7 separate regions of the Homo sapiens genome follow, and all the other regions are linked to region 5. The links are contacts of gene promoters, found by promoter capture Hi-C in blood cells and fetal thymus (Javierre and others, 2016). All regions are on one chromosome and are shown on one strand. The core of a region is centred on a gene start or on the middle of the fragment in contact, and the rest is flanking DNA. Distances in the headings are between cores, read along the strand shown.

Region 1 (3,540 bases), core at 848-3,347, 180 kb after region 5:
TCCATCAACAGATGAATGGATAAAGAAAATGTGATACTTATATACAAAAGAGTGCTATCCAGTCATAAAGAAAAATGAGATGCTGTCATTTGCAATAACATGGATCACTAAACTGGAAATCACTATTTTAAGTGAAATAAACCAGGCATAGAAAAACAAACATCACATGTTCTCACTTATTTGCAGGATCTAAAAATCAAAACAATTGAACTCATGAAGATAGGGAGCAAAAGGGTGGTTTTCAAAGACTGGGAAGGGTATTGGGGGCGTTGGGGGCGTAAGTGAGAAGGGTTCATGGGTATTAAAAAAACAGACACAGTAAGACAGTATTTGATAGCACAATGGGTGACTAGTCAAGAATATTTAATTGTACATTTCAAAATAACTAAAGTATAATTGGGTAGTTCGTAACACAAAGGATAAATACTTTAGGGATGGATACCCCATTTTACATGATGTGATTATTATGCATTGCATGCCTGTATCAAAATATCTCATGTACCCCATAAACATATACACCTACTATGTACCCACAAAAATTAAAATAAAAAAATTTTAATGTCTTGTGACTAGTACCTGTTAGAGATGTAATATATACTTACTAAACAGAGTCACCCTAAATGAATTCAGTTAACACACAAGTCAACCATAATTTATGGATTTTTTCATTCTTCTTTTGAATATAGAACTTAAGAATATTTCTAAATTAATCTCACTGAAATATAATGGTGAGAGTTAATTAGATTGAAGTGTTTTAAGAGGGTTCAAGTAGTTTACACGTTTTCTTTTATAAAGAAAGCTATAAATATCCACTCTTTCTTATATCTCCTGGATCTCTCTACCACCCTTTAGCACATTATTTGCTTCCTGCTTTTAATTAAGAAGTTTCAACTCGGTAATCCTTTTTTTTTTTATTATACTTTAAGTTTTAGGGTACATGTGCACAATGTGCAGGTTAGTCACACATGTATACATGTGCCATGCTGGTGTGCTGCACCCATTAACTTGTCATTTAGCATTAGGTCAACTGGGTAATCCTTAAGATCTAAATACAAGACTTTGAAAAATGTTTTCCCTTTTATACAGGAAGCCAACTTTGCCCCTGGTAGGCTGTCTAAATCTGCTCCACAGGGAGTGAAGAAATTCTTCTACAACTTTATCCTGAACTGATTCTTTATTGAAAGAGGAGTACCTGTGGATTTAAAAATCTTTTAAATTCTCTCAAAAAGGAAGCCTATGCGTCTGTGATTAATTGTATCACTCATATATGCCATTTCTTACTTCCACAGAACCACGTATCTAACTTCCTAACAAATTTCAACACCACAGGGCATGTCCTGTGACTTGATACCAAGCACGACCTATAGCTTAAAATTGGAACACACAATTATGAATTAGGCCAATGAGTAACCAGAAAGTGTTCCTGGAAGGAAAGCTAAGAAACCTTCCTAACTCCATGCAGAAGACCCTAAGCTTGACAAACACTGTTGAGGTACATATCAAGAAGATGCATATAGCCTCCTAAATTTCAGGATTCAAATTTTTTTTTACAACTTTGTATACTGACTAGCCTCTGAAAGCCTCAGTGAGCTAGACTCCTTGACAAGACATTTGCAGTTACCAAAAGAAAGCGTGTAAAAGGTATTCACTGCTTAAAATGATGGGGTTGTCCTGGAAAATTGCATTGTTCACAAAGCAGCAAAGACTGAAACACAAGTTGAACTAATGATCAGAAAGCATATCCTAGTAAGACTGTAACTAAAACTCTAAGGGTCTTCTCTGATTTCCTGTCTGTAAAATGGACATGATAACTTCAAATCTATTTCACGGTCACATACCAAAATAGATACACACATAGATATATAGATATAAACAAAGCTTTGTTTTTATTGGTTAACATCGATGGCCCAGGTCTAATCTTTAGTTCTTTAGTGACCGTAAGTCACAAATAGATCATTTGTTGAGTTTTTAAGTGCAGACACATCATTCGAGGGGCTCAAATTCTATTCTTGGTTAAAGGTATTTAATGGTTCATTTTACATATATTTTGCCAAACTAGAATCATAAGATCAATAAACTGCCTTTCATTTTCAACTACAATTAAATAGCAAATTGACCCTAAAACCTTTTAAGATATCATCAATCTTTTAAGAAATTATGTGAGTGTGAGTGTGTGTGTTTCTTATCTAAGTTTCTAAGAGGGCCTAGAATTTTTTTAAGTTTTATTTAAGTTGAGGGGTACATGTGTAGGTTTGTTATATAGGTAAACTTGTGTCATGGGGGTTTGTGATACAGATTATTTTCTCACTCATGTATTAAGCTTAGTACCCATTATTTTTTCTGGTCCTCTCCCTCCTCCCTCCCTCCACCTTCTGACAGAGGGCCTAGATTTAAAAACAACTCAGTAGCAACAAGCACATGTGGCTGCCTAGATCTTAAATTCTAAACACTATTCTCCACTCAAAGGAATAGGACTACCTTGGAGAAATGACTGATTCCAAGGCAAGGATAGGAAAAGTACAAAATGAGCTGAGAACATCTCATTGTTTCAGAAAGTAAGAAGTGCTCAAAGTATGACCAAAACTGGGAGAGTTTGAGCATTAAAATAAATAATGATCATAGCAGATGATAATACATTGGATAAAATAATAATCTATAAATCCATATTGAAATGAAAAAGGAAGAAAGACAAAAAATAAAGGAAGGAAGGAGGGAAGGAAAGGAAAAACTTTTGAGGTAGAATGTCAATAATAAAAAAATAAAGTTAGAAAAATCATGATTTCTCAGACATAACAGAAATACTTGATGGACGCATTTCTACGAGAGCTCTGAGAAGCCAGCTCTCTCCCTCTCTGTCTGGATTTGGATGAGGAAGCCTGTGATCCTGGGAGTAGCTGGCAGTCATAACATTTTGTAGTGTTTCAACATCCTTTTCGGCACTCCACCTTAGTATAAAAATGAAACCAAGAAAGCAGGAAAGGAAAACGGTAGGAAAAGGGGCCCTTCATGCCATTTTTGAATTGGTGAATCAAACCAATCTTAAGTCTGCCCTAACTCGGGACTTCCAGTTACATAAACCGTTAAGTCTCCTCTATTGCTTACCTCAGCTTTAGTGTTACCTGCAATCAAAGTACTCTTGCTGATACAGACTTGTGATCTCAAAGTTTAAGCCTGCATTTTTACAAGTTTGGTTTCTGTGACACAGTTCAATAGACGTGGCATAATTAATCTATTCATTATCACTACACAGACATTAGAATTTTTAAGGCCTCACTATCATTACTTGTGGAAGGTTTCAATATAATAAATAATTACAACTCAATGTGCAATACAAAATGCAAATATTGAAAACCCTGTACATCTCTGAGTTGAGAAGACCTGATCAATGACAGCTATAGTGATTGTGCCAAAATATGACTCTAAGTAAATGTACCTAAATTCCAGTAATCTATCTCTAGTATAACCAGTAATTTTCTTTCCCTCCTTTTTCCCACCTCAATTTTTCCCTCAGAAATATATATAAAAGCTGTATCTAAATGT
Region 2 (3,188 bases), core at 508-3,007, 230 kb after region 5:
TGTCACATTGTTCTCCACCACCACTAAACGTAGTCACAGGCCAGAGGTTGCGCCAGGCATATACAACTGTGTCTTTAGTCACTTTGTTCAAAGTGTTGGTAACAGCATATATGGACAGCATCCTTCATGCTAAACTGTTTTTGAAAACCTTCACACACTTGCCTCTGTTCACCACGCTACTATGCTGTTCAAGAAATGTATTTTTCATTGATCTAAGGATGCCCTGGTCATATGGTTGAATTAATAAATTACATTTGGAGAAAAGTACATGGCATAAACAACATTACTTTTGATGAAAATTTTAGCTGAAAGCTGAGCAGAACAGTTGTCAAGGAATAATACTGGCAGTCAACATCCAGTCCAGCTTCCCTACAGTGAGCTTCAGCCACTGGTACAAATTGTTTGTGTAACCAATGAGAAAAGATGTCCCTGATGATCCAGGCTTTTGGTTAGCATAATAATGAACTAGTAAGAAATTGACTCCTTGCAAACAGCAAGGACACAAGCTTTTGCCTACACAGCAAGTGTACATTTATGTGTGTGTGCTGCATTAACACATCCGAGCACAGATATTCTGTTCATGGTATCTTTCATTCCTCTAGGGGCTTTCTCATCAGCTGTAGTCGTTGTCTTTCTGGGTCAATAACATCAAAACAGTGATGTTTCATCAGCATTATAGATTTGTCCTAGTATTAGATTTTCATCAGCAACAACCTTTGGAAACTCGTCAATGAATTTCTCCACTGCTTCATGAGCAGCAGATGTTTTATTACCACAAATCTTTAATGCCAAGTCTTTTCTTCAATGTCTTAAATTTCTGCAACCAGCCTGTTGAATATTTACAGTTCCTTTCAACTTGCAGTTCGTTGTGATAGATCTTTGCTTGTTTCCTGATTACCATACCGCTAAGTGGCACATGTTCACTGCAGTGCTGATGGATTCACTCTGTTCACACATGATCAAGATCTTCATGTTCAGCTTTATGCAGTGTTTTTCTATTTCTCATTAACTTCTGTCCACCACTTTCCACATAGATCTTCAACAGTTTATCCTTCTGTTTCTTAGGTCATATGTGGTGGTCATTGCAATACTATACCCTTCTGTAAAATGTTTCACACTTATACTGCTACCTGGTCTCTTCAACAGCTTGACTTTCTGTGCTATGGATAAGTAAAAATGCTTTCTCTTTTCCTTACCACTGTTGCCCAAGGGGTATAAACAGGCGGTTTTTTTTTTTTTTTTTTGACATTTTCAACAATATCTTCACACCACAGAGCATAGAATAAGCAAAAAAAACACAGTAAGGAATGCACATAAATCTTGGCCTCACATAGGGCATTGGGGGGAACCTGCCAATGGCATGTCTGGCCTGCACATGTGCCATTTTATTACACTTCTTTTGTGTGCTTGCATGGAGGAAACTGGGCATGTACAGAAAATATATATTGCAGCTGAAGAGGGCTCAAGTCTCTTTCTTCCCTTTGGGATGCTGAATAAACTGTGTGTGATGTGATTGCATTTTGACCGGGACCTAGCACATAAGGACAGATATGAAATTTTTCACTTGTGGCATCATATTGGCATTCAAAAATTTCAAATATTGAAGTGTTTTGAATCTTGAATGTTTGGATTAGGGAAAGCTCAACCTATAGTCACTTTCCTGTAAGAAAAACTGGAAAACTCTACCTTATCTAAGTGGTCAAGATTAACATCACCAGTGATAAGTCATGTGGATAGGTATACTATATTCTCTAATATGATGTGATGAGAAGGGCACTTCACCTCTGTGATACTCTCTCCCATAACCCACAGCCTCGTCTAATCATGAGCAAAACAGCAGACAAACCCATAGTGAGGGATATTCTTCAAAATACCTGACCAGTACTGCTTAAGACTATCAAGATCATGGAAAACAAGGAAAGACTAGGAAACTATCACGGACCACAAGGAGACTGTGGAGACATGACAACTAAATGCAATGTACTACCCAGGATTGGATCCTAAAACAGAAAAGGGATATCAGTAGAAAAACTAGTCTTTTCCCTTTTCTCCCTGCATTTTCTCTTCAGTGTGTCTCTTATAAGGATACTTGTCATTGGATTTAAGGCCCACAGTGGACAACCCAAAATAATCTCATATTGAGATTCTTAACCTAATTACATTTACAAAGACCTTTTATTTTCAAATAAGGCCACATTCACAGACTCTGGGAGTTAGGATATGAACATATTTTGGGGGCCACAGTCCAGCCCACTACAGATGTTAACATTAGAAGGAAATTTGTAAAGCATATACAAGACCTTGCTATACACTCTGCAACTTTTCTGTACATCTGAAGTTTTTCCAAATTAAAAGGGATATTTTAAAAAATTAAAAATAAATACATATATGAGCAAAGTTCGCCTATGATATAAAAATTCAGAAACTCAAAGAGTAAAAGGAAGCCACCACAGATGGATATCTCTTTGTAGACAGCAAAATTGGAGGCAGCTGTTATCTATAAATTTGTAAAGAATAATACTTAGTAACAATAATACTGTAGAAAATACCTGAATTATATTCTGGTTTTCTACACATGTCTAAGCCACTAAAGACGAAAAACTATCCTGACTTTTCAAATATCTTCAACTAAACTTGAAGATAAAGGATGTAAAATTGTTTTAATGTTTGGTTACTATTCTTCCTTTTTTAAATTGCAGATTTGGAAGGAAGTCAACTACTGCAAAACTATATATATATATATATATATATATATATGCAGATTCAACAGCTCTTTCATTTGGAGTATGTGTCACATTACAGTAACTATATTATATATATATCTATATGCAGATTCAACAACCCTTTCATTCTGAGTGTGTGTAACATTACAGTAAAATTCCAAACTTTACAAAATTTTCTCTAATTGATTTAGTGCTTTGAACAAATGCAAGTTAAGTGGTTCCAATGGCTGGCATTTTCTCTATATTTATCAATAAAGTAATTGCTTCAGCTCAAACCTGTAATTTAAAAGCTTAAATTGATTAAGCAGGGTTGCCCTTCCTGAACATTTTTTTGGTCACCTTTCTGAGGCACATTTGTATCTAATAGATACTGATCTGAGGGTTTCTTTTACTTTCATTGGGTTGTTTTCCTTAATATTATAAAAAGATCTATTGTCTCAAATGGTCCATATTGAAAAGTGATTT
Region 3 (3,456 bases), core at 494-2,993, 240 kb before region 5:
CCCAGGCACTGGAAAAACAGAGATGAATCAAATAGTGGACCCTGCCTACATGAAGCTGAATTTTGTAGTATAGGTGCATGGAATAACAAAGAATTGGGATGATATTTTGAAATATTATGAGAAGTCACCTTGTTTCTCGGAAAATCTTTTTACTTTGTGGTCTTTTCACCATTTAACCAGGCAGAGAAACTTAGGCTGATTGCCTCAGAGAAGAAAAGACACAAAAGAATCCAGCCAGAACAGAGTCAAATTACTGGCTGAGAATATAAAAAGAAAGCCTGGAAAGCTTTAATTTCTAAGCACCTGGCCTTTGGGGGAGAGGGAGTGGAGCTTATCTTTTGTTTTATATATTTTATTTTATTTCATTTATTTTATTTATTTCATTTATTTTCAAATTCTAAAACCTTGGCTCTGCTTCAATAGAGTAAAACCTGGAAGACTGACCAGTTTCTACCAAAAACCAGGGCATGGGGTTGAATGTATAAAATGCTTTCCTGCCTCAGAGGAGAAAGACCCTTTCTGTGTTGAGGGAGGAGCTTTGAGAAAGTTGAGAAAGCAGAGCTAGCGTGTTCAGATGCAAATGTGGGGTCTGCTGAAACCTCTGCATGGAGGCTGAGGAGATGGAAGGGTGCCACCTAGAAACATTTAGGATCTGAGAATAGAAGGTGCCCTGCTTTCCATCTGGAGTAGCCCTGCTGGCCTTCTGTTTGGTCATTGCCTATGCCAAACTACATGTTAAATATTTTTAACATTTTCCTTATACTGGGGAGTTTCAATGGGTTTTCATCAGAGGGTGTAATATGATGTGACTTGTGTTTTGAAAGATCACTGAGTGAAGATGAAGAGGATAGACTGGAGGAGGAATGCCCAGAGACCCACAGAAAACCTTGGAAGCAGTGGTACAGGCTTGAGGGGATGGCAGCCCCAGTTGCGAAGTGTCAGGACTGACTCAAGTTCACTTCTCAGGGAGAGGAAGGAGAGAGACTGTGGGATTGCTCCCAGATTGCTGGCACAGTGGGCTGAATGGTGGTGCCATTAATGGGTAGATAATTCAGGAGAAGGAGGGGGCTTAGGAAGGGAGATAACGAGTTCGGTTTTCATCTAGATGTGCTATGAAATCTTAAAAGTCCTTGAGAAATTGGAGAAATGTGAACTGGTTGATAATAAGGTAAGGAGGATTTGAAGCTAGTGGAACAAATAAACCCACTGTGTTTATTAATGAATCGTGATGCCTCTCAAGGGAGGTCTCTGGTTCTATTGGAGGGCTCTGCCCTTGGCCTAGTTTTTCAAGAACTTGGATGTAGACACAGAAGATATGCTCACCAAATTGCTGTATGATGCAAATATTGAAGAAATAGATATTACAGTAGATGACTGAATTAAAAATTCAGAAGGCTGAAGCAATTGTCTGAAAATAACAGGATGACACTTAGAATAAATATAAAGTCTTACATTTAGGTTTAAAGCAAAATAAATGGCACAGTTACAGGATCTGAAGGTCTGGCTTGGCAGCAATTTCTCCCAACAATTAAATCGGGATTTTTGTTGGCTTAAACTTTATGATGAATCAACAGTGTGATGCAGCCACTTAAAGGCAACTCCCTCTCCAGATGTGATGAAGAAGAGTTTAGAAGACACACTTCCTAGCAAAGTTCCCTCAGTTTTTCAAAACTAAGTGTTTTTTAGAATAAAAATAGTTTAAAGAAGCCACAGATTAAAAACCAAGACTTTTGGTCATTTATTCCAAACACACAAGGCAGGGAATTGCTCTCACTTGGTGGCTTTATGTCCCTGATTGCATCAATTCATCCAGAGACAACTCGTGCCCACTGAATAGACATGTGCTTTCCTGCATTTTCCAGGTCCTTTCAGCTGGGTTGGGACCATGTGACAGAGTTCTGGCAGATAGGAATGAGAGCAGAAGTGACATGGCACTTCTGGTCCTAGGTTCCTAACTGTTGCTGTGTCTCCCGTATCCTTCTTCCTCCTGATCAGAAGAACTTAAAGTCATATGTTGAAGTGCTGGCAGACAAGATGGAGAGAGCCTTCACCCCTGAGTCACTGGATAGTAGAGAGCTCTGCTGACCCACGTGACTTCACATGAGCAAGAAACAAAATTTTGCAGTTATTGAGCACCTGCAGTTTAGGGGTATCTCTATTGTTGCCACTAGCATAACCCCCCAACCCTAAAAGCATTTATCCTTGAACATCACCTGGCAAAGGTGTAGCAATGGCTTAGCCCTTATACTTCTTTACAAGGAACTTCTGAGAAACTCTGCTTGTAGCCCCAGTTTTGAGGTTTTTGGTGGATAAATAATGTACTCGCACACAAAACTGATGGAACTCAATTTTAGTAACATGACGAAGAAAACCACTCTTCTGGTCCACAATTCCTTTATATTAAAAAAAGTACCAATTTATACTAAGGCATTAAAAACACTTATTCATAAAATGTAACACACTTTGTGAATTATCCCAGAGAATGTTCTTATATTGGCTCAGGGTTTTGACGGGCCCTAAGGTCCCTTCCAGTTCATGAAGTAGAGCAGAAATTATAATGTAAGTATAATGGAGGAAATCTTAGAAGTCATCTAATGCTACCAAATACCAGACTTTATAGAGTAGGAAATTGAGCCTGAGAGAATTCGAGATATTTATCCCAGGTTTCTTTGATCTCCTGAATTCCATTTGCAGTGTTCTTCCCAGTACATTGTTTTAAAATTATAGTATTTAAAAGCAAACAATGACAACAACAAAAAAACCCTCTTAACTCTTTTTACCTTGCAAGGAGCTGATTCCTTTCTCCTGAACCTCTTCCATTGTTATGACTCCATGAAAGGGGACAGAGAAGTTTCCTTAGGAACAAAGAGAGGAAAGAAGATGTACAGCAGATGGGAAATCTGTGCAAGCATAGAGCCTACCTTATTCTCATACTACATAACCTTTCCTGGTCTTTCCCCTCTTCTTCTTCAAGCCTTTTTCCTATCACACACATACACATGCTACAAAATCTTTCTGGAACAGATACCTTATCTTCTTTCTCATTCCAGGTTAAACTTAGTCTAGGACAGTGATATTTTTAGTTCAATGAAGTTTTTATAAACTCTAGTTTATCATTTTAACCCCAGAGCATCCTTATCTCAAGGATCTTTCCCTATTCTCCACCCCCTAGTTTTAACCCTTTGCTGCAGAGCTTAGAAAGAAGCTTATTAGAATGATGATCCCTTGGTTAAACCAAGGTCTCCTGCAGCTCATGTCATCATCTGCCAGGCTGTCACTCAGGGTAGCCAGTGGTACCTCCATCATGGACAGATGTCCAGCTTGTGCTCACCGTGTTGGGAAGCCCAGTGGTCAGTGCCATTTTTTCCTTTTTCCCTTGTACCTTCCTGCCCAACTGTTTGTTGCTTCAATTGGCAATCTCATGGAATGGCCAGCAGGCCCCTGTGTTTTTTCCTT
Region 4 (3,227 bases), core at 323-2,822, 150 kb before region 5:
GTCTTTGTGGTCACAGTGCACCAGGTACAGAACTCTACACTTGTCCTTACCACTCTACACCTGAACTTGGACTTTATTTTTCTGTCTTCACCACTAGACTATAAATTCCATGAAGGAACAGATCGCAGGATACATTGTTGATCGCATATGTAACATCCATTATCCCTTTCTTCCTTCTCAACGAAATCTTGATTTTTGTCCTGGTCTCCATCCCTCCCATACAGCCTGCTAGATCCAGGGAAGGTGACGCCAAGGAATAGATTCTAATTATCTTAGCCAATCAGTGTATTGAATTGGATCTGATAATGGGCTAATAAGCAGGTGACCTAAGTTCAACCAATCAGACCGAAGGGAAAGAATTGTATTTCATGCTTAAGAAATGTGAATGCTATTCTTAAAGTAATGCAAAACTGTAGAAGAAATGTAATCTGAAAGTGACAAGATTTTTTTTTTCCAGGGAAGGTTATTCTGAGAGTAATTTGGCGGATGGATTTGAGCACGGAGAAGGGGCAGAAATGAGGAAATGAGTTCAATTTCAGAGAATATTAGAGTAATTCACATGAGTAAATATGAATGGCCCAAATTAAGATGGAGGGCATGGGAAAGGAAAAGAGGGAAGGAGTCAAGTTGCATTATGGAGTTAGAATTGCAGGACTCATTATGGGTTCAGAAAGCACAGGAGATTAGCTGGAGAAAAGAGTCTAAGATGATTCTAGATTCTGGCTTTGTGACTGCTTGGATGATGATGGGATTTCCTAAAACAGAAAATACAGGAAGAAAAGTGTCTATGGGAGGATCAGTGGGTGACACTGAGTTCAATTTTATACCTGTTGAATGTATAACACACATATTCAATGATGTTCCAGTAGCTATCTTTGAGTAATTTTCTTATCACCAGCTCCCTTTTCCTCATGCTTCCTTCCTGTTATGGGCTGAATTGTGTCCCCTCCCCCCACACACCACCCCCAAAATGTACATGCTAAAATCTGAACTCTCAGTACCTCAGAATGTGACTGTATTTGGAGATAGGGTCTTTAAAGAGATAATTAAGGTAAAATGAGGTCATATGGTCGGGCTCTAACCTGAAGTGACCAGTGTCTTTCTAAGAAGAGATTAGGACACAGACACATACATAGGGAAGACCACACGAAGATGTGGGAAGAAACACATCTAACACCAGGGAAACAAACCCCAGTGACACCTTAGATCTCAGAATTCTAGTCTCCAGAACTGTAAAGAAATGAATGCCTGTTGTTTAAGCCCTCCGGTCTGTGGTACTTTGTTATCGCAACCGTGGGAAACTAATAGACCGCCCTTGCAGCAAACATGTGGAAGAGTAAAGGATTTGTAGTATTTGCATTTGTTATGAGGTTTCGGATATTCTACAATGCAAAGTCTGAGGAAGAGCCTGAAGCTAAAGAAGTTATACGTCCAGGGCTTTATCCAAACCCAGAAGGTTGCTTACATATGTGTATAAAAGTTGAAGTCAGGAGGGCTCCACTAAAATTCACGGCTCGTTTTTCTCAGAACAGCATTCCAAAACACATAAGGGAAAGGAAACCGATTTACAATTGACCCTGTCCACTTTCAAGTTTCCAGCTGTATTTACACAGCTGCTGAAGGCAGCACAGATGAGAGATTCTCCCCTTCATCACTGAGAAACCCACACCAAGAGTATGCTCAGTGTCTTCGTATTAGACGATTCAGTAAGTCTCAGGGAGGAACACAAAATATCAGGAACTCAGCCATTGACACTGGGGATGCTGACAATGAGAGGAGGAAAAATAGATGTAAACTTAGCAAATTGTGAAATATGAATGCAAAAGCAAACACAGGAGGACTTACAACCTACATGACTCTATAAAATATGATGAACAGAGCATTTAAAAGATAAAGGACAAATGTAAGATGTGAGGAACTTTTGAAAATTATGGTGCTTTCAATCTTGTATTTTACTCAACACCTGGAAATAATTGTAAATCCCTGGAAAAGTCAAGTTTGTCCTCCTGGAGGTGAAGAACAAGGAGGTTGTTGCAGAAACAAAGAGATAAACGAAAGGAATGTCTCAAAGGAAGATTTATCCAGATTATCCTACCACGCAAAACAGACCATATGAAACACATTTTAAAATTATCCTCCTTCTTGCCTTAAAACTGATCTGCATCATGGTACAAAACTGTAAAAATAATACTGGTAGTTAATGCTGTTCTAAAACAAGAAAAAGAAATTATTTTAAAATCCCAGTACGTCTGTATGTGTGTGTGTGTGTGTGTGTTTGTGTGTGCGCGCACGCGCATGCTTATTTGTGTTAACGAATTTGCATTAACAAAGTAGAATGTTTGTTCCCCCTGGAAGAATTTTTTGAATTTTACAATTATAAATGGGTATTTTCTGTAACACTGGGGAAATGCAGAAACATGCTCTAAGAAGCTGATAACATATATACTGTCTGGTTATAGACAAGGTAGTGCTTGTCTTACCAACCAAACGGTGGATTAACAAAAAAAACCTCTATATGTACATATCCCCTGATATGATGCCATGGTTAAAACAAATTCCATACATACTAAATATAATTTTGAAGTTAACTTAAGCATCTTGACAGCTAGGCAAAATACTATCCTGTTCCATTGACCTTAGCCTCAGAACTTAGGATTCAATAGGGCCTGCAGCATCCAGGGTTATGCTTTCAGGTGCTCCATTTAGGCACCTTCTTCAGCTGACCACTAGTTGTGAAGTTGCTTCAGTTCAGAGGCAGAGATGGAAGGAGGGGGTTGGCCCAAAAAGAAAGGGCTGATTGAAGGCTGTATTATTCTGTTTTCATGTTGCTGATAAGACATACCTGAGACTGGGCAATTTACAAAAGAAAGAGAGGTTTAATGGACTTATAGTTCCACATGGCTGGAGAGGCCTCACAATCATGGCAGAAGGCAAGAAGGAGCAAGTCACATCTTACGTGGATGGCAGCAGGCAAAGAGAGAGCTTGTGCATGGAAACTCCACTTTATAAAACCATTAGATCTTGTGAGACTTATTCACTATCACGAGAGCAGCATGGGAAATACTTGCCCCCATGATTAAATTACCTCCCACCAGGTCCCTCCCACAACACGTGGGAATTCAAGACAAGATTTGGATGGGGACACAGCCAAACTATATCAAAGGTGAAAGATCTTTGCCTTTAGAATGAGGTTCTTAAAAACATAATAATAAGGAGGTTTTTCTTTT
Region 5 (3,371 bases), core at 589-3,088:
GGAACTTGGCTTCTGAGACTGGAACAAACTCAAAGCTCCCCCAGGACAGAAACCCTCTGATGCCACCAAGTTTACCTCCAAAAGGAAGCCCTGTGATAAGGGACCTTATCTATCTTGGTCACAGCCAGAAGCGAGAGTTTGCTCAGCTTATTAAAGCAAAAGTTTCAAAATATTAAGTTATTTCTGACTAGTTCATGGATAGCTGCTATTGTGACTCCTCCAAATGATCTCCTACTGCTCCAGCCCCTTCTTGGTACTAGAAGCTTCAGAGAGGCATCACCTGGCAGAAGGCTCATACCTGGCAGAGAAGAGCACCTCCAGGATACTGTTTGAGCACCACCACTGTCAGTTCTGACTAATGCTCTAGGGACACTGGTTGTCAAGTATCCTGGCTATCACCCTGTACCCAGTGATCTCAATAACACTCCTGCACCCAGTGTTTTGGATATCACCTCTGCACCCAGCAATCTGGATATCACCCCTGCACCCAGTGTTCTGGATATCACCCCGGCACCCAGCAATCTGGATATCACCCCTGTACCCAATGTTCTTGATATCATATCTGCATCCAGAGTTCTGGATATTACCAGTGCATAGAACAGTGTCTGACACATAGTAGCTACTCAGTAAGTTTTTCTAAATAGACTGATGAATATATAATCTATTTACTTATTTTATATTTTTTACTTACACACTTTGCAGAAGCATTACCTATTTGTTAGTTCAACCCTACACAATTGTGTTCAATAACAAAGTATCTAGCCCATTAATTCTGCACTGCTATTATCTCTACTTCCAATGCCATTAATCAAGACAATATTGAGTAAGCACATACTAAGTGGCAGAAACCCTGGGCCTTGGAAAGACCCTCCAGGAGTGAGCTGGAGATATGTTATATGCTTGGACTTCTTCCCAAGAGCACAGATGTCATAAATAATTCACAACTAGATGAGAAAAGGAGATGTCAAAGAAATTAAATGACTCATAAGTGTGCTACTATTATTCAGGCTCAATCTGACCTCTTTTTGACTTTGGTGAGAGGGTCTATTTTTTTGACCATCTAAAAGACATAAAAATAGACACCAATTATATGACAAGTTGCAAAAGCTTGAGGAGACCTCTGCATAGACATAGAATCCAAACCGAAAATAATTTATACTCATTGCCTACCTACTATGTACCTAGCACTGTGCTGAGCCATATACACACAGCATTTCAGGTAGTGCCCACCACCATCCTATAAGCAAGTACTAGTCTTCACCCCATTTTACAGATGGGATAACTAAGTTGTGGGGAGGCTAAATAATTTGTCTAATGGTACACGATTGATAAGTGCCAAAGACAAAATATAAATTCCTGTCTGTCTACCTTATAAAGATGTAAATTTAGGAGAACCAGCTTCTCTTGAATTGCAAATTTTATGCTAGAATATCTAATATTTAAATTAGAGCATTCCTTGAACTTTTGTTGGCCAGTTTAATTTTTCTTTCATCTTGTGCACACATTCGTATGGTAACATTCTCCAGTATTTTCCTTGCACCCTTTTTTCATCATGCTCTTCTCCCCAATTCCCTCATCCAGAATGGTGTGGCTTCCGTAAGTGACTAAAACCCACCCTGGCAAAATGAGCTAGGGTCTGCCCTGCTATAATTCAGACAGATCTGAATTACTTCTTGACCCTCCTCACTTCATCCACCCTGCACCTTGCCTGCCCTGTCCCCTGGTGCCCTTGACTACTAGTCTGTTTTCTATATATTGTGACTGTATACACACCTTGCCACTGAAGCTTGAGTCATAATCTATTCTATCTGTATCTCTGAAAATGATCTTTACTTCAACTTTCCTAAAGGATATAGATTTCTCTCTTCTTTGGCTCCAATAATTTGTGCCCAAACTTCAGACCAGTAATTCCCCAGATGAGCCTGCTGCTACCCTACTTGCGTCTTACTTTTGCAAGCTGTTTCCATTCTTATTAGGCTAATAACTGAAGACAGGATCAAGATATCTTTCTAACCTATCCAAAATACCTGAATATTCTGTCACATTCAACAGTAAGTCAATACAGGATTATGTATACATCTTTGTATTCTTCATATTACCCAGTCCAGCCTTCTGCACTTAATAGGTACATGAATAAGTTAATCAATAAATGAAGGAATAGTTGGTTGTTTGATGAATAGCTGGAGAAGAACTGGCATCGTGCCTAGGTAAAGTAGAATATTATTTCATAGGTACCACTTGTATTTTTTTCTTCCTACACAAAGTGTTTAAGAAATATTTGTTCATTAAGATTATTAGCATTGACCAGTAATTGATTTTGAGTCACTTATTTGGCTTACAATATTGTTTACTTATTAGCTACAATGTGTAAGACACCTACTGTACAGCAGCCAATATCTTGAGTACTTTTACAATTTTTCATTTTACAGCACAACAAAAGTTGAAGGTAAGTGTTAGTATCCATTTTTTACAGTAAAGGCAGGATAGAAGGTTCAGAGAGGTTAAGTAATTTGTAGAAGATTTCTTAGGAAATGAATAGGAGTCATGGATCCCATGTCACTCTAATTTCAAATTCTAAATTCTTTTACTCTTTCTGCTATTTTGCACTACTTCATTTTAAAAGCGGTCTTATAAAATATCCTTCTAAAATTTTTCAGGTGTTTTTCAGGAGATAAGGAACTAGCACATTGCCTTTCATTAATCCATTACAGCAGACTAGGTTGCAAGATAATCTAGCTGTTTCCTAGCAGAAGAAAAAGAATGACCTTGAATAAATGGAACCCAGCATCACTATATTTTGATGTGAGAAAAGGAAGTTGAAAAGATTCAAAGGATAGACATCTTCCCAGATTAACAGGGATGTGAGTTCATAGTTCAGGGTCCTAAGTGACTGAAGAGTAAAATGAGGAGGCTAAATGCCCAGATGAGACAGTAACAAAAGATAAAAGGAGGAACTAATCAGACAATTGGGTAAGAGGATGATAGTGAGGAATGGGTGCTGAAAACATGCTTTCCTACTTCACAAATATTTTGAGGAATAATTAAGATTTGTAGGGAGAAAAATGAATTCCCAGCTCTACCTTCTCCCCGTCTCTGGATTTGATTATAGGGATGAGGCTATTACTACAAAAAACTAAGGGTATGAGAGGATAAGAGAAGTAGAAGAGAATTCCACCCTGAAATAACATCAGCTTTTAAAAGTTACCTAATGATGGATGAGGGTATTCAAGTCAAACTACAGATTTACTTTAAAAACTAAAAGCATGCCAAGCTTGATTTAGGGAATAAAGTGGAAGCAACCATCCTTACGCATCTAAATGCAAAATTATTTGGTGGCTGCTGGTACTTTTAGATATGAGTCAATTTAGTAG
Region 6 (3,511 bases), core at 919-3,418, 210 kb after region 5:
TCACTAAACTGGGACCTTTGTGCATAAGTAACATGGTGAGTAATGGGTGTTCACTGACAGGACAAAACGAATCTTCCTACTGGAGCAGAAATCCAAAGTCTTGAGATAAAAGCAAGTAAGGAGATACAGGAAAAGCATGTGCCAAGGAAGGAAATCAGATATAAGTCAGAGGAGTTTTTCTCTGGGGCATCTTTTTGCTTGTTTGTTTGTTGTTGTTTTTTAAAAGGGGTCTCACTTTGTCAGTCAAGCTGGGTGCCATGGCACGATCATAGCTCACTGCAGCCTGACCCTCCTGGGCTCAAGCCATTCTTCCACTCAGCCTCCTGAGTAGCTAGAACTATAGGCATACACCACCACACCTAACTAAATTTATAACTTTTTTTTAGAGACGGAGATCTCGCTATGTTGCCCAGGCTGGTCTCAAACTCCTGGGCTCAAGTGATCCTCCCTCCTCAGCCTCCCAAAGTGCTGGAATTATAGGCAGGAGCTGCTACGTCCTGCCTTCTCTGGGTCCTCATAAAGGTATCATGTAACCTTCCAGCAGTTGATGAAAAAGGATATGATAAGCTTTGTACTCAAATATACATTTGATATTATGGCATGGAAGTGAAGTGGAATTGTTCAGTAGGTTGGCACTAACAGTCTGTAACTTAGAAAAAACAGGACTAATGGTTTTAGATAAAAGAATTTTCCATAATGAGTTGATGGAGGAGGGTGAAGAAGTGACATTGCCAGCAAAATATATTAAAGAAAGTAGGACAGGAGCTATAGCTATGGGAACCCAGAGTAAGCACTGAGTGAGGAAAGAAGCAAGAGAAGGATTTGGGGATGAAAAAGTGGAGCAAGAAGGGTGTAGATAAATAAAGGAGGGTAAGAATTCCAAGAAAAAAAAGTGTAAACAACAGTGCCAACTGCCAAACAGAAGCAGTCAGGGTAAGAACTATTCAAATGAGCCTGGGTGGAGCAGGGAGGAGGACACCAATGACCTTCACTGAATAGGCTGAGTGGAATGGTAACGACAGACTGTGCTAGGAGAAACTAGAGGCACTAAGCATAAACCACTCAGTGGCCATTAAAGGAAATACAGAAGCAAAGGATAGCTCAAGGGAGGAACAGCGTTAATCAAAGATTTTGCTCAAGGTAGAGGAGACCTAAAAGAAGAAGTAGATCTTATCTCTTCCTTCTGGCTCTGAAGATGGTAAAAGCGAGTTAACTAGACAAGAATTATTTTGACCACAAATCTCTCCAGAAAAGGAACTGGGAAAAGATTAACTCCCCCTCTAAAGTAACAGATGTTGGCTTCTCCTCCAGATACATTTGTTAAGGAATGTAGGATGTTCCTCCAAATACTCCCCACTCTATTCTACACCACCCTACTCCCATCCCTGGGACATTATTTTCTTTGTACCAGTTCCCCTCCCACTGGGTCCCAGTTCACCCATTTCTCACACCAGGCCTGGTGGTGAGACTCATTCACTTCCCTTGTTTTCAGCTGAACTATCTACTTTCCTCTAGACCAGGGTTTCTCAACTTCCACACCGTTGTCATTTTGAACCCAGTAATCTTTTGTTGGGTAGGTAGGAGGTGTAGTCCAGTGCAGTGTAGCTTAGTAGCATCCCTGGCCTCTCCCCACCAGATGTCAGTAGCATGTCCTCCCACAGTCAAGATAATAAAAAATGCCTCTAAACATTACAGAATGTTCCTTTATGGGGAAAATCCCCCACACCCACATTGAGAATCACTGTTATAGACACTTCTCTCCCCCGATTCTCCCTATAGACTGAGATAGACACCCTGCTGCACCCCACTTCTCCCATACTACCTGTCCCTGAAACAAGCAAATGATGCTTTTCATTTTCTTTCCGACAATTTTCACTACTGATAACTGACAAAGCTTAACAAATATCATCCTAACAAAATTCCAGTTTCAAGAATGCTCACAGAGTTACCATGCTCCTTAGATTCCAGGGAAATGTGAAGTAAGCAAGGGCTGTAGTTTCCATGCCCACTTCCTGGACTCCCTTCTTAGCCAGCATGTGGGATGTGGCTGCACCCTAGTTGATGGTGAGACTGAGTGCTGGACCTGCCTCCTGGTTCACACTCATGTGGACACACAGTCAAGTTGTTAAGTCCATTAGATCTGGTAGGTTTGGCAGGACAGCTCTCAGCACGTTGGACTGGCCCTGTGCTGATCCCTCCTTTCTCACTTCTATTTCTCAAGAATAGCGATAGGGTGTGCTGAGAATGTAACATCCTGAAATAGGGAGATACTGGCCAGCACATCCTGGGCTCTGTTCCAGTCCCCCAGAAACAGGATGCCCTTCAGTGCTTTAGCCCAGTGAGTCTAGCAACCCTGGGGTATAAAACCTAGTGAGGGCTGCTTTCCTGGGTCCCTTAGCTGCAGTGCAAATAGGGCACATGAAGCAGACTCCATCTTCCACAGGAAGCTTTCCTAAGCCTTGGGGGACTGACTGACTTGCAATGAATTCTACACTTCTGTTGTCCCTTCCTACCTATCTGTAAGTAATAAACTTGCTTCATGTGGTGTGTTGTGTGTGTGTCTCGTCTCACCAGACTCAGACAAGTTGATATCTAGTTCACAGTGAACCTGCTTTGCAGGTTTGCTTATTTCATTGCCAGGTATTCATAGTACTGTCACCACTTTTTGTCAAAAATCACCGTGTAGTTTTTCTGCAGTTTTTACTTATTCTGCTATCTCCACCCTCAACATCTACTACTCATATATTCACCCTGCCCAAGTTTTAGTTCATTCTTAACTGACTTTGCATCATACTTAGAGACTTTTATGATTCCAGTCCTGGAATGTTAATCCTTCCTGGGATGCTGGGATGAGAAATAGCATCTCCCATTTGACTCCAAGGCTCCCAACTTAGCTCTCAAGCTGACCTCATCCATCTTGTTCCCCTGACGGTCTTTACAGCTCTGACTGTGTGATTCATCCCTTTCCCCAGTCCTATTTTTGCCTGCACTTTCATTTGCCTTAAACATCTTTTTACTTGAATGTCAAGACAAGTTTCACGTATTAGACCTTATATAAATTCTTCTTTACAGTCCAAGCAACATCGTGAGTCCTTAGCTCATTTGAACAGAAGATATGATAAATATACCCTAAATTGTCAATACATTTCTGACGGATTACAGTAGCTTTGCCTACTTTTCAAAGCCTCTTTGAATCATTACTTGTGTCCTTTTCCACATCTCTCTAAGGAAGTGGGTTTTTTTAATTAGGTCGTTTTACATATAGAGCAATACTAATTGATACAGTTGACTGGAGATACAACCCTGACCTCGTGACCAGCAAGGACATTAAAATCTCTTGCTTCTAAATTGGATTTCTTTGTGGAAACATATTTGCGTATCTCTTTGGAATCCCCTCTTTGCATGTTAATTGGTTGAAATACAAAATGATATTGATTGGTCCTATAAAAAGAAAGAATATGGCTTGTCTTCCTTATCTTTTTATCATCTTGAAGATGGTTAACATTTATCA
Region 7 (3,571 bases), core at 733-3,232, 210 kb before region 5:
TTTACAACTTTCAACCACCATTAAGAAAATCTTTGGGAAAGCAGTAAGCTGAGATATGATTCTTTTGCTCTCTACTAAGTCAAGAAATGTCATCTCTCATGTGCCAAAGACATTTTGCAATTTTGTTAAAATTAATTTTTAATTAGCCAGTGTAATAGAACAGATTATTTTGAGTGACTTGTCATGTGTTACTATTTCCATTAGTTACACAACTTTGTGCAAGACTTTGAAAATGAAACACAGAATCCTGGGATTCCCTTGCTGTGGGCAAGTACACGTGCTGTGAGTGGATGTGAGGATGTCTTCTGAAGGGAGGAGAATTCTCCTCTGTCAACTTTCTATCTAGGGCAGAATATAAGCCATAGCTTGATCCTATGTTTATAAAAGAGAACACTTCTTTTTTCTTGGGACTGAGTTGAATTTGGAGACCTCAATAATGGCTAAAAAACAAGGTCAGTCCTGCAATGCATACAGGTTAGGTGGGCCCTTCATGGTAAAATGCAGGAAGCCTAAGGAATGAGACAGCCTGTGAAAAACCCTAGGAGGAGCTCCTAGGAGATATCCTCTTTAGAAGGCAGTTTTTAATATTCTCTTTTTGCATTTTAATTGCCTCCTTTCATGCCCAGTACTACAACAATCCTTTGGTAAACATTGCTGCATAGTCTTAGCTGGTACTTCAAGGAATTAGCAATGCCCATATGAGAGAATCTAATGTCCATACCTAAGGAGGAAGCAAGTTATGAGATGGTAAAAGATGAATGACTGGGAGAAAAAAAATACCAGTCCAGAGCAAGAAAGCTGGCTGGGGGTTCCAGAGATGACCGAGTAGTTTAATGGAACATAAAAGCATTCCTAAGAGAATTCTCCAAAATTTACTTAAAGATAGTAGGAGGGTAGAGAAGAATCTTGTATGACCACATTTCCACATTGCACAGAATGGGACTATTATTATGTTTGTTTATTGTCATCATTGTTTGAATTAAAAGGAAAAATTACCCAGAAAGTGGGAGAGTTTGCCGGCATTAAAGCTGAATTAACTTGCTAGGGCTAACGTAACAAATACCACAGTCTGGGTGGCTTAAACAGCAGACACTTATTTTCTTACAGTTCTGGAGGCTGAGGAGTTCAAGATCAAGGTGCTGGCAGGCTTGGCTTCCCCTGAGGCCTCTCCCTTTGGCTTGCAGAGGGCCATCTTCTCTCTGTGTCCTCACACAGGGCCTTTCCTTTGTTCATGTGCATCCCTGGTGTCTCTTTCTCTTCATAAGAACTCCAGGCATATGAGATTAGGGCCCCTCCTGATGGCCTTATAACCACCTCTTTAAAAACCTTATCTTCAGATACAGCCACAGTACTGGGGACTAGGGCTTCAACATATGAACTTGGGGGAGGGTGGGGGGCACAATTCAGCCCGTAACAGGTGTTCATACAGATGTTAAAATGCATTCATATTTCAGCCCTAAAGTGTTGAAAAACACAACGACATGATGGACGTCGATGTCAGGGTAACAGCCTCTTTCCTCCTTACTCTGATACTCTCCCTAACCCTCTGCAAAGCGTGGCATCATCTTTAACTGACTGTCTTTCTAGAAACCCTAGGCTGTCTTCTAGATGCTATTTCTCTAGAAGATTTTAATAGAGAGACCTACATTAAAGGTCACAGGAGTGGGAGGATGGAAAGGACTGCAAGGGTAAAATCGGGAAAGGAAGGAAGCTCCTGCCTCTAGGCCCAGCATGTAGGAGCACAGTTAAGAGATGACAAGTTGTGCTGCAGGCAAATCTGCTTCCTACACTCACTTCCCAAATACCTCTGGAGGCATCCAATACTTCATTCAAACGCACTCAAGGCGAAGCGCTCAAACCGTCACTGAACATTTCTCTGGCAGGTTGCCAGTACTTCATTCTTCTTGTTAATGGTGACAGAGAAAATTACACAAAGCATCCAGGATGCTGATATGCCACTTGCTTCACAGTTTACTTCAAAGTCCCCTCAGAGTTTTCCGAATTTTACTTTCTGGAACAAAGAATATTATTGGCATAAGCATCAAGTATGCAGTTAATAGTGAGCAATTTCTGAATTTTTGAGTCAGAAGCAATCTGTCAGCAAGTAATAGCCAAAGGCCCTGTAGTAATAGGCTTAGTTGGCCCAGGCTTATTTCTCTAATTCACTGATTCTCTTGCATCAAAACAGCAAAAAACAAAGTTTAAAAAATGATGATTTTTCTACCAAGTTGTCTCCCGTGGCTTTTATTCTTATACTGTAACATGACCTGGCATTACCCTGGGCTCTCCTTTAGTCTCCTTGGTTGAGGATGACATCTAGGGAGACCTATTTAACTCATCAAATCATAAAAGCTAGACAGAACCACAAGAAATTGTTCTGTTAAATCTCCCTGGAAGGCTTCAATGAGGCACAACCATCAAAGTTTTTCAGGGAAGAAAGGCAGTGTTGTCTGTATATTTAGCCGTCAAAAAGGTTTTCCTGTGTCAAAGTCGCTCTCCTGCCAGTGTCTGAACTTGAATTAACTCTAAATCTTGCCAAATTCCCTGCCCCACATCCAGTCTCAGGAAGAAAGCCTGGTATTCGAATATTTTCCAACAAAATACACAAACTGAACTCTCAACATTGACCCTGGGTTGCCTGTGAAATCTTGATTTCCAATTTCTACAGCTAGAAGAGCCCTTAGCCCAGGGCTGCTTCAGAAATCCTTGCTTAATGGATGACTCATATGGTCAGTCCTTGAAATCTGAAGATTAATGTTGATCATAAACGTGAATTTTTGGGGAATACTCGGTAATTTTTTGAAGCCCAGTTTTTCTTATAATCTGTGAGAAACTTAGCTGCTTATTTAAAGCTATTTGCTTCTCAATTTACTGTGTCTCTGCATAGGTGATCAAACATACTTTGCTGTATTCTCCTCTTTCTGTGGTCTCCCTTTCTGCTTTCTTCCACTCAGTCTTCAGCAAAGAACCATGTTCTCAAGAACACCATCCATCCGACAGTGCCCCCTGCCTCCCATCTGGCAACTCAGCAGTGGTATTCATTAGTCCTGGCTCTGAACTCCTGGCTTGTGCTGTTGGACCAAATAGCCAGTAAGGTTTGCTCAGTGACTTGTTGTTTGCAAAGAAAGAAACTAAGGCATGTGATCACTTAGTGAGGAGTGGGTGAAGAGAAACTTGAGCTGTACAATGTTGCCTGTTATAAGCATCGTTGTCAGCCCAGAAACCCAGGGTTTCCAGGCCTAGAGTCACAGTGAAAATGCTTCAGGTGTCATCAGCACAGTTGAACTGCATATCCCACCCTTGCCAAACATGGTCCACCTCACACCCTTATTTCACAGGTGGGAAAACTGAGTCCCAGAGACACATGGTATTAATTTGCTTAAGTTTGCATGGTATATAGCTCATTGCTGGGAAGTTGTATGTAGAACTCAAGTCCCCTGACTTCCAGTTCAGTGTTCATTACAGTATACTGTATGGTCCTCAAGTACTTCTTCACCATTCTGTCCATCCCATTATGCCACCCTAGACTCAAAACCATGCAGGTCAGCTTTCTGCATGCCAAAATAACAGG

What was found. The method cuts DNA at HindIII sites, captures the fragments that hold promoters and counts their contacts. A CHiCAGO score of 5 or more calls a contact.
Region 1: a fragment that was not itself captured here is called in contact with the fragment with the promoter of NREP-AS1 in region 5 in 1 of 17 cell types (M1 macrophages); the score reaches 5.5 in M1 macrophages.
Region 2: a contact is called between a fragment that was not itself captured here and the fragment with the promoter of NREP-AS1 in region 5, in 3 of 17 cell types (M2 macrophages, M1 macrophages and M0 macrophages). The highest score is 5.7, in M2 macrophages.
Region 3: a contact is called between a fragment that was not itself captured here and the fragment with the promoter of NREP-AS1 in region 5, in 2 of 17 cell types (M1 macrophages and M2 macrophages). The highest score is 7.5, in M1 macrophages.
Region 4: a contact is called between a fragment that was not itself captured here and the fragment with the promoter of NREP-AS1 in region 5, in 1 of 17 cell types (M1 macrophages). The highest score is 5.7, in M1 macrophages.
Region 6: a fragment that was not itself captured here is called in contact with the fragment with the promoter of NREP-AS1 in region 5 in 1 of 17 cell types (M1 macrophages); the score reaches 5.5 in M1 macrophages.
Region 7: a fragment that was not itself captured here is called in contact with the fragment with the promoter of NREP-AS1 in region 5 in 1 of 17 cell types (M1 macrophages); the score reaches 5.1 in M1 macrophages.

The regions. Positions count from the first base shown.
Region 1 is chr5:112,095,077-112,098,616 of GRCh38, forward strand. No RefSeq gene overlaps it. Among named protein-coding and RNA genes, the nearest start is that of EPB41L4A-AS1, 64 kb to the right of the region's middle. The HindIII fragment of the contact is 442 bases long and covers 1,877-2,318 here.
Region 2 is chr5:112,137,789-112,140,976 of GRCh38, forward strand. No RefSeq gene overlaps it. Among named protein-coding and RNA genes, the nearest start is that of EPB41L4A-AS1, 21 kb to the right of the region's middle. The HindIII fragment of the contact is 2,507 bases long and covers 505-3,011 here.
Region 3 is chr5:111,675,160-111,678,615 of GRCh38, forward strand. All of the region lies in intron 2 of STARD4-AS1 (STARD4 antisense RNA 1), which reads left to right. Among named protein-coding and RNA genes, the nearest start is that of NREP, 80 kb to the right of the region's middle. The HindIII fragment of the contact is 2,919 bases long and covers 285-3,203 here.
Region 4 is chr5:111,761,501-111,764,727 of GRCh38, forward strand. It overlaps a transcript of NREP not described here. Among named protein-coding and RNA genes, the nearest start is that of NREP, 5.9 kb to the left of the region's middle. The HindIII fragment of the contact is 8,270 bases long and covers 1-3,227 here.
Region 5 is chr5:111,910,670-111,914,040 of GRCh38, forward strand. It overlaps NREP-AS1 (NREP antisense RNA 1), which reads left to right and starts at 1,839. Exons shown (of 4, transcript NR_046678.1): 1 at 1,839-2,051. It also overlaps a transcript of NREP not described here. The HindIII fragment of the contact is 1,485 bases long and covers 1,785-3,269 here.
Region 6 is chr5:112,118,568-112,122,078 of GRCh38, forward strand. No RefSeq gene overlaps it. Among named protein-coding and RNA genes, the nearest start is that of EPB41L4A-AS1, 40 kb to the right of the region's middle. The HindIII fragment of the contact is 553 bases long and covers 1,893-2,445 here.
Region 7 is chr5:111,695,554-111,699,124 of GRCh38, forward strand. The region is part of intron 2 of STARD4-AS1 (STARD4 antisense RNA 1); the gene reads left to right. Among named protein-coding and RNA genes, the nearest start is that of NREP, 60 kb to the right of the region's middle. The HindIII fragment of the contact is 5,664 bases long and covers 1-3,571 here.